Linked DNA regions of Homo sapiens: region 1 is linked to region 2. Evidence: promoter capture Hi-C in human tissues and cell types (Jung and others, 2019). All regions are on one chromosome and are shown on one strand. Each heading gives the region's core, a stretch centred on a gene start or on the middle of the fragment in contact. The rest is flanking DNA. Distances are from core to core; before and after follow the strand shown. Region 1 overlaps BAZ2B (bromodomain adjacent to zinc finger domain 2B). Region 2 holds the start of CD302 (CD302 molecule).

Evidence for each region. Contacts are between HindIII fragments. The study calls those that stand out against the background at their distance.
Region 1: a fragment that was not itself captured here is called in contact with the fragment with the promoter of CD302 in region 2 in 1 of the 25 tissues and cell types used here (hippocampus).

Annotation. Positions count from the first base shown.
Region 1 is chr2:159,519,771-159,523,989 of GRCh38, forward strand. The region is part of intron 2 of BAZ2B (bromodomain adjacent to zinc finger domain 2B); the gene reads right to left. Among named protein-coding and RNA genes, the nearest start is that of BAZ2B-AS1, 93 kb to the right of the region's middle. The HindIII fragment of the contact is 3,851 bases long and covers 1-3,511 here.
Region 2 is chr2:159,796,083-159,800,309 of GRCh38, forward strand. It overlaps CD302 (CD302 molecule), which reads right to left and starts at 2,126. Exons shown (of 6, transcript NM_014880.5): 1 at 2,050-2,126. The coding sequence starts at 2,116. All of the region lies in intron 33 of LY75-CD302 (LY75-CD302 readthrough), which reads right to left. LOC124906083 (a long non-coding RNA gene) reads left to right here. Exons shown (of 2, transcript XR_007087273.1): 1 at 1-1,870; 2 at 2,737-4,170. The HindIII fragment of the contact is 5,989 bases long and covers 1,000-4,227 here.

The sequences.
Region 1 (4,219 bases), core at 336-2,835, 280 kb before region 2:
CACGCCATTCTCCTGCCTCAGCCTCCCCAGTAGCTGAGACTGGCCAAGGGACCTTTCTTTTTAACTGAAATGAGTTCCTCTTTTCGTTGGTGATCTTCCTTCTATGATCCTGCCCATTACAACAGCTGGGAGTCCAATCTATGATGATGTTTAATCCTCCCCAGTTTGGTATTTCTAACCGTAGTAGATAAATGTGACTCTGTCTTCACATTCAGTTTGCATCAATTTAGATTCATATTTGCATACTTTTAGAACATTTACTTTTTGTTACTGGTGCAGAGGAAAGACAGCAAAACTGATACAAAGGAAATGTCCTATCTCTTATTTTATTATACAAGAAAAAACAAGATCTACCAGTGATGTCAAACGACATGCTACCATGGTATAATATCCAGCCTGAACACTAATAAAATGTAACAATGATGCATTCTGGTTTTCATGTCAGGTAAATAGGTTGTAGCAAATCATATCTTCCTTACTACTGGGTTGGTCTGCTCTCTGCCTCCCAAAGATCCTAAATTTATGTCCTCCTGCCTCCCAGATTATGCTTATGTTGTTTCATATCTCTTCTCCTACCTCATTATCAGTTTAGGTCTCATCACTTTCAGGATGGCTCTCTCTCAGACTCTACTTGAAGGGCCCATAAAAGCTTTCTCTACATAATTTAGCTATATATTACTATATAATTATTTGGGGATTCTCCTTATTAGATCTTGAAATTCCTTCTTTTATATTACCCACCATGAATAACAAAATGCTCAACATGTAGCAAATACTCTAAATACAAATAAACTTACTATAATGCATTAATAAACTGCTGTATATATTTATAACAGCTCATGTTTGTTCAACATAACTAGGATATTTATTATGATTGCATCAATTGAACCAGAAGGCAAATTTTTACCATACAGGTGATTTCTGCATGGTATACAATCAACCCATATTTAATCAAACCTTGGGCTTTTCTGTTTTCAAGCTTGTCAAAATAATTTCAATTGTGAGACAACTTTTGAGAACACTACCAAAAACCAAATCTATTTTGTAAGCTAGTGTCAAACCTCAAAATGACGAAGATTAAATGACAATTTTCATCCAATACAGTTTGATTCGTATTTGAACTCATAACATAAAATTTATGAAGCTTATTACTTTATTACCATTCAAAGAATTCTTCCAATGTGTAGCCATTAAAATTTATTTCTGAACTTCCTATTTTATAAAAATTCAAACCTTAGTAATCTCAATATATAATTCTGCTATTGTAAAAGGTAGTAGTCTTTAGATTTGGCATAATATATACACTCCCTTACCATAATTTCCTGCAATAAGGAAAACCACTCCTAATATTTAAAAATATGTTAGAAAACATACACTGAAGTATCTCATATTATCAACTTAAATCAATCAAGATTCATTCTGTTCATTAAAAAAGTTATAGGATAATTATCATGGTTACATTATTAACCATCTTATAATTGTTTACTTCAAAGAACAAAAGTAGGAAACATTTCCATAATATAAATTGAAATGGCTTTTGAACAAATTTAACAACAAAAGAATATTATTCAATTTTCTTTCTTTTCCTTAAAAACAAAATGGAAAGAGTAAGCCAAAGACAGATACAGATGTGTATATTTTCATTTATTGCAACATAATAGATACACACAGAGGCTGTGAGAATACAATATTCATTTTTCTGCAGAAGAACAGACATTGCATAACAATGAGATTTGCTAATGAAATCAACCATCAACCTGAAATACATATGTATTAAACCAAGACCTCAGTGTCATTTTCTTTTTGAATCGTTTGTTCTTACTTTCATTTTTTTCTCGACCTTTTCAGTATTTTTGTCCTTTAGATTTTAGAACTTATGGGTGAAGCAAAATCAACTCTATATTACAATGTATTGCTTTTTATTCATCACATTTATTTTCAATGTAAATTCCAATTGTTCTGCTTCTATCAGCACTATTAGTGTACCTTCAGAAAAAAGAAATCAATGGATGCTACCAGAAGAAACAAAGGAGGTTTATTTCTATAGAGAATTGTTGGATCTCAGGTCCAAAAAATTTTTTATCAATATTTCACATAAATTCTATGTGAAAACTTTAATTGCAAGGCGAGTGCTTACTTATTTAATAAGAAATAAGAAAATAATAAATACATTTTAAAGTCACTTTTGTAATAATATAATTTCCTCGACAATTTTGACTACTGATAATTATTAAATGAAATAATGTAGGGCTAATATAATCATTAAAATGAAAATTATTCTCAAGTTTTTAAAATAATACTTTTCCCTCAAAATGTTTTACTATCCTGGTCTGCAAATGTTGATTACCAATTAATATTTTCAAAAATAAGTAATACTGGGAATTTTCTTAAAGATTTATGATTTAGTTACAATCTTCAATAAAAGCACAAGACTATGAAAATATTTAATGTGATGTATCTTAAAGAAAAAATAAGTATTAATGTACCCCCAGAATCAATTTATATCCTTTTGAGTATAGGATATTTAACTAAAGAGCTATCTGTGCTATTGGTTATCCATTTACACAAATTAGGTTTTCAATTCACCTGTGCTACAGATAAAATTAACAGGCTAATCTCTGGCATACAATTGCTACTAATTCATAATAATAACAGCTTTAACAACAACAACAACAAAAAGCAGTACTTATACCAACTAAAACATCCAGAGTCAAACAGAAGATTAAGTTTCCTGTTATATTTTATACTACGTTAATGTCTAACCTCAAACAATACCCTGCAAAAATAACCAAAGGCAGTATCAACTACAATTCTGTTAGAAATAAGTAAACAATTAGACGTTCCTTATTAAATGTAAACTCTGAAAGTTGTCACTGACGTCTAATAATTGTCAAGGCTATTTTTAAAACTTTGAAGAATGACTTGAAGCTACAAACCACACAACCACAGAACGATCAATCAATCTAAACACAAGAGATTTTCCTTTAAAAATCCAAAAATTTCTATTAAAATGTCAAAATATACATTAGACTGTAGAGAAACAGACGCTTTAAACGAGTATCTGTGCAATACCAAAAGCCTACTTTTACTAGTACAAAAAAAAAATCCTAAAACATGGTGATAGGGTTTGGAAAGTCATCTAGCTCATTGCTACTCCAAGTATAGTCCACAGACCAGCAACATGGAAATTATTTGTTAAAAATGCAGAATCTTGGCCAGGTATGGTGGCTCACACCTGTGATCCCAACATTTTTGGGAAGCCAAGGCAGGAGGATCACTTGAGGCCAGGAGTTCAACACTAGCCCAGGCAACACAACGAGACCCCATCTCTACAAAAAAATAAAATAATTAGCCAGATGTGGTGGCATGTGCCTGTAGTCCCAGCTACTCAGGAGGCTGAGATGGGAGAATCACTTGAGGCCAGGAGTTCTAGGCCAGCCTGGGTAATAGTGAGACCTGGTCTCTACAAAAAATATTAAAAATTAGCCAGGTGTGTTGGCACGTACCTGTAGTCTTAGCAACTCAGGACATTCAGGTGGGAAGATCACTTCAGCCCAGGAGTTCGAAGTTACAGTGAGCTATGACTGTGCCACTGCACTCTAGCCTGGGTGACAGAGCAAGACCCTGTCTCTAAAAAAAAACAAAAGAAACAAGGCTGGGCGCAGTGGCTCACGCTTGTAATCCCAGCACTTTGGGAGGTCGAGGCGGGCGGATCACAAGATCAGGAGTTCGAGACCAGCCTGGCCAACATAGTGAAACCCTGTCTCTACTAAAAGTACAAAAATTAGCCGGGCATGGTGGCGCATGCCTGTAGTCCCAGCTGCTCGGGAGGCTGAGGTGGAAGAACTGGTTGAACCCGGGAGGCAGAGGTTGCAGTGAACTGTGACACTGCACCCCAGCCTGGGTGACAGAGTGAGACTCCGTCTCAAAAAAAAGAAAAAGAAACAGAAATGCAGAAACTCAGGCCCCAGACTAGACTTACTCAGAATATTCTGTACATTAAAGTTTAGGAAGCCCTGATCTAGTACCTAACAATTTATACACCAATTTCAATAATTTCTGATATAATAACAACCCCTCAAAAAATCCATATTAAGAGACAGAATACTCAGGGAATAATTTATTTGTTGTGCCCAAAGTCCACGGCCTATCTTTTGCTTATTCATCTAAGTCTCATTCATATGGACTACTGATTTAAAATTTGTGGTAATATGAGGAA
Region 2 (4,227 bases), core at 876-3,375:
TAATAACCTCCAGAATGACAGACAATAACAATGATTTCCGTTTCAACATCACATTTATATGCAATACCCATATTTATTATGCAACATCATAAGAGCTTTTCTATTAAGATCTTGGTATTCAGCAACAAACTCTTTCTTGACTTAGTTCTAAGCCAAATATGACCCCTGATCTTGCTTGGATGGGAGATTTGTAAAGTATTATGAAAAACACACTTAGTTTTTCAGCCCTATAACATTAGCATACATATGAATGTGTTCAGTAACCATAAACATCCAATATACATAAGGTGGTATTCATACGTTTTCTGGTTGCAACAATTACCCTTCATTTTGTATGAAGAGAATAAAGGGAAGGAAACCAAGATGAACCACGCCTGTAATAGGGACTAGACGTGGAGTTCCCACTTAATGCTCCCAATAGCCCCATGAGTAAGTATTATCTCTGTTTTACTGAAGTGCAGATAAGTTGGTTAACTAGCTAGGTCAAAGCTCACACTCATTTCCAAATTAATCCTTAAAGCTTCCTGACTGGGAGGAGCTGATTAATTAACATTAATTTATTCATCATGCACTTTTCTAAAGCTCTTGAAAAGCCTATTGATCCACACTGGACTTATCAAAGGAAATGCACAAAAATTTCCAAAGGGAAATTTGCCCTCTATTGCTGGTCAAAACAGCTTCACTGAAGAAGAGACATACCAAAATCTAGAAACTGATTTTCTTTAAAAGTCTGACAAGAAAGAAAAATCTGACAAGAAAATTCGACTAGCCTAAAGTACAAATGCACAGCCTCGCAGAGGGTGGTTTACATGAGAGTTGAGATGTTACTGGCTCGCAAAATGAGGGTGTGCAGAAGGAGGGTTCAGAGACAGCCCAGCTTTGTCTTAGACAAAATTAATGTTCCCAGTCTGAACAATGTGAACATGGGCACATCTTGTTTCTGCCCCTTTGATAGGCAGCAGATGTCACAACCAGTCATAAATGCAGGTCCACAGAAGTTTTCAAGAAAGGAACCTTGGGTTTGTATCCAAGTTCTGAGCTGCTGCTGCCTCCAACACTGAGGTCCACTGAAATATTCCTGTCAGTAGACTTCGAGCAGGCAGTTATTATAAAAACGCAGTGAAATCTGGGGCAAGGGGTGGGGGGGGGGAATCTCTTGCATTTTATTTAAATCTCTTGCACTTTATTTAAGCCCACACAAGTACTCATTTAGTTCTTGTTTATTTTGCTCTTTAATTCCTGGAATTATTCAGTCAGTGGTGTTTTTGGAAGTCTGTGTTCTCCAGAGTCTCCCCATCCACATATTTTTGACATGCTTGTATGGAAATTTTTTAAAAATAAAGACCACGGTCAATAGAATTGTGCATTTTCCTCACGAGTCGTTTTGTAAATGAATGATCACGTGTGTGATTTTTCAGATGTCACTTGCACAACAGCAGACTAGAACTTTAAAACTCCTTGATTTCAGTGAAATCCAAGCTTTGCCTATTCCCGTTCCTCTTCCATCCAGGGGTTATTTGGCTGAACTGTTTTCCTGTTTAAACAACTTGAACACCAACCAACTAGACAAACAGCGCTGCTTGCAAAAGAGGGCCTACTTCCTCCGGCCCCCACCCCCATCCCAGCAACCCCACTCCGGCCGCGCACCAGCAGGGGAAATCGCCACCAACGTCCCCGCTTCTCATTTCAGCCCGAAATTGCCCTGAAACGGCGCCCGTCGTGCGACTCCAAGTCCCTCAGTTCTCCGGCCAACTGGCCTAATTTGGGGGTTCCCTCCCCGCGGAGTGGGGTCTGCGGTGAGGATGTGGACTCCGAGGAAGACAGAGCCCTCCCTTATTCTCGGCCACCTCCCCTCCCCGAGGGCAGGCGGGTGAGAGGTGACCCGGAGCCAGGACCCACGGGGGACGGGCGTGCAGGGAAGGGCGGGATGGCCGGCCGGGTGTTGCGTCTGCGGGCCGCCCTCGGGTGCGCGGGGACGAAGAGCGTGCGTTGGGAAGGGGGCGAAGGCGGTCGCGCACGGTCCCGGCGAGGGACTACGTAAGGGCTTACCCGCGACGGCAGCAGCGGCGAGGCCCAGCAACGGCAGCAGGAGCGCGGGCAGCGCGGCCCGGAGCATGACGGCGGGTGCGGGTGGGCGGCAGCGGCTGCGCGGCCGGAGAGGAGCGGGGCGGGGCGGGAGCGGGGGCGGTGCTTCTCGCGTGCGAGTTTAATCCCCCCCCCGGGCGGAACGTGAACGGCACTGGGGGCTCCCACCAGGAGAACCCGGGTGTCCCGTCCCGCAGGAGCGGCTGGCGCGCGGCCTTCTGGAACTTCTAATTTTTGTTTTTTAAACTTTTCATTTGAATTGAAATAATTTAGGACTTTCGAAAATGTTGCAAAAACAGCACAAGAGATTTCCGTAACCCTTCAGCCAGCTTCTCTAAATATTGACATTGTATATAACGCCAGTGCAGTGATCAAACACAGGGCACTCGCACTGGGATAATGCGATTAGCTAATCTACAGCACTTACCACATTTCATTAATTGCCCCTCTAAGGGTCCTTTTCTGTTCCAAGATTCAATCCAGGATCATACATTGCATGTCGTGTCTCCTTAGTCTCCCTTTAATCTAGGACGGTTCTCTGTCATTCTTTTTCTTTCACGATCAAACCACATTTAAAAAGTACTGGCCAGTCGTTTTGTAGAATGTCCCTCAGTTTCATTTTGTCTGACATTTCCTTCTAATTGGATTCAGGTTGCGCTTTTTTGGGAAAGAGTTCCCCAGAAGTGATGTACGTGCTCGAGAAGGACAAGATGTCGATGTCTCATCACTGATGTTAACTTGGATCAGTTGGTTAAGGTGGCGTTTGCCAGCCTTCTTCTTTGGATCTACTGGCCAGAATCCTCCTTTTCAAAGACCCCTTTCAGTGGACTATGTCTCTTAGACAACTTTTCTCTGTTACCAGCTCCTGGATGAAGAGTCTTTAAGCTATGTTTGCTACAATGTATGCATAAACTGTGCAATTATACTTCACCCATGAGGGCCTCTGGACAACACTAGCCAGGGTCAAGCAAGGGTGCTTGTTTAAGCCTCATGTCATTGGCAAAAGAGTTCTATAAAATCAAGTCTAAACTCAACAACGTGAAAACAAATGACCCAGTTAAAAAAAATGGTCAGATGATCTGAATACACACGTCATCAAAGAAGTTATATAATGGCAAATAGATGAAAAGATGCTCAACATCATATGTCATTGCTGAATTGTATATGAAAACAAAAATGAAATACCACTACATACCTATTAGATACCAGAATCCAAAAACACTGACAAGACCACATGCTGGCAAAGATGTGGAGCAAAAAGAACTCTCATTCAATGCTGGTGCAAATGCAAAATGGTACAGCCACTTTGGAAGACAATTTGGAAGCTTCTTCCAAAACTAAACGTACTCTTACCATACCATCTAGCAATCACAACTCCTTGGTATTTATCCAAATGAGTTAAAAACTTACATACACACAAAAACCTGCACATGAATGTTGATAGCAGCTTTATTCATAATTGCCAGAACCTAGAGGCAAACAAGATGTCCTTCAATAAGTGAATGGATAAACAATGGCACATCCAAACAATGAAATGTTACTCAGTACCAAAATTAAATGAGCTATCAAGCCACAAAAAGACATGGAAGAACTTTAAATATGTATTGCTAAGAGAAAGAAGCCAATCTGAAAAGACTGCATACTATATGATTCCAACTATATGACATTTTAGACAAGGCAAAACTATGGAGACAGTAAAAAGATAAATGGTTGCCAGGGGTTGGGGTGGGAAGAAGGAGGGGATGAATAGATGGAACACAGAGGATTTTTAGAGCCATGAAATTATTCTGTAGGATACTGTAATGGTAGATGTGTATCACTATACATGTGTCAAAACCCATAGAATGCACAAAACGAAGATGAACCCTAGTGTGGACAATGGACTTTAGTTAATAATGTGTCAATATTGGCTCATCCACTGTAACAAATGTACCTGCTAATGCAAGATGTTAATAATTGGGGAAACTGGGGTATGTGTAAGGAGGTACATGGGAGCTCTGTACCTTCTGCTACATTTTTTGTATACATCTAAAACTGCTCAAAAATTAGTCTATTTTTAAAAAAATAAAATCTGACCCTTTCCAACTCTTTCTAACCCTTTCCACACTTCTGATAATCCAGAGTGGTTACACCAAGGAAATT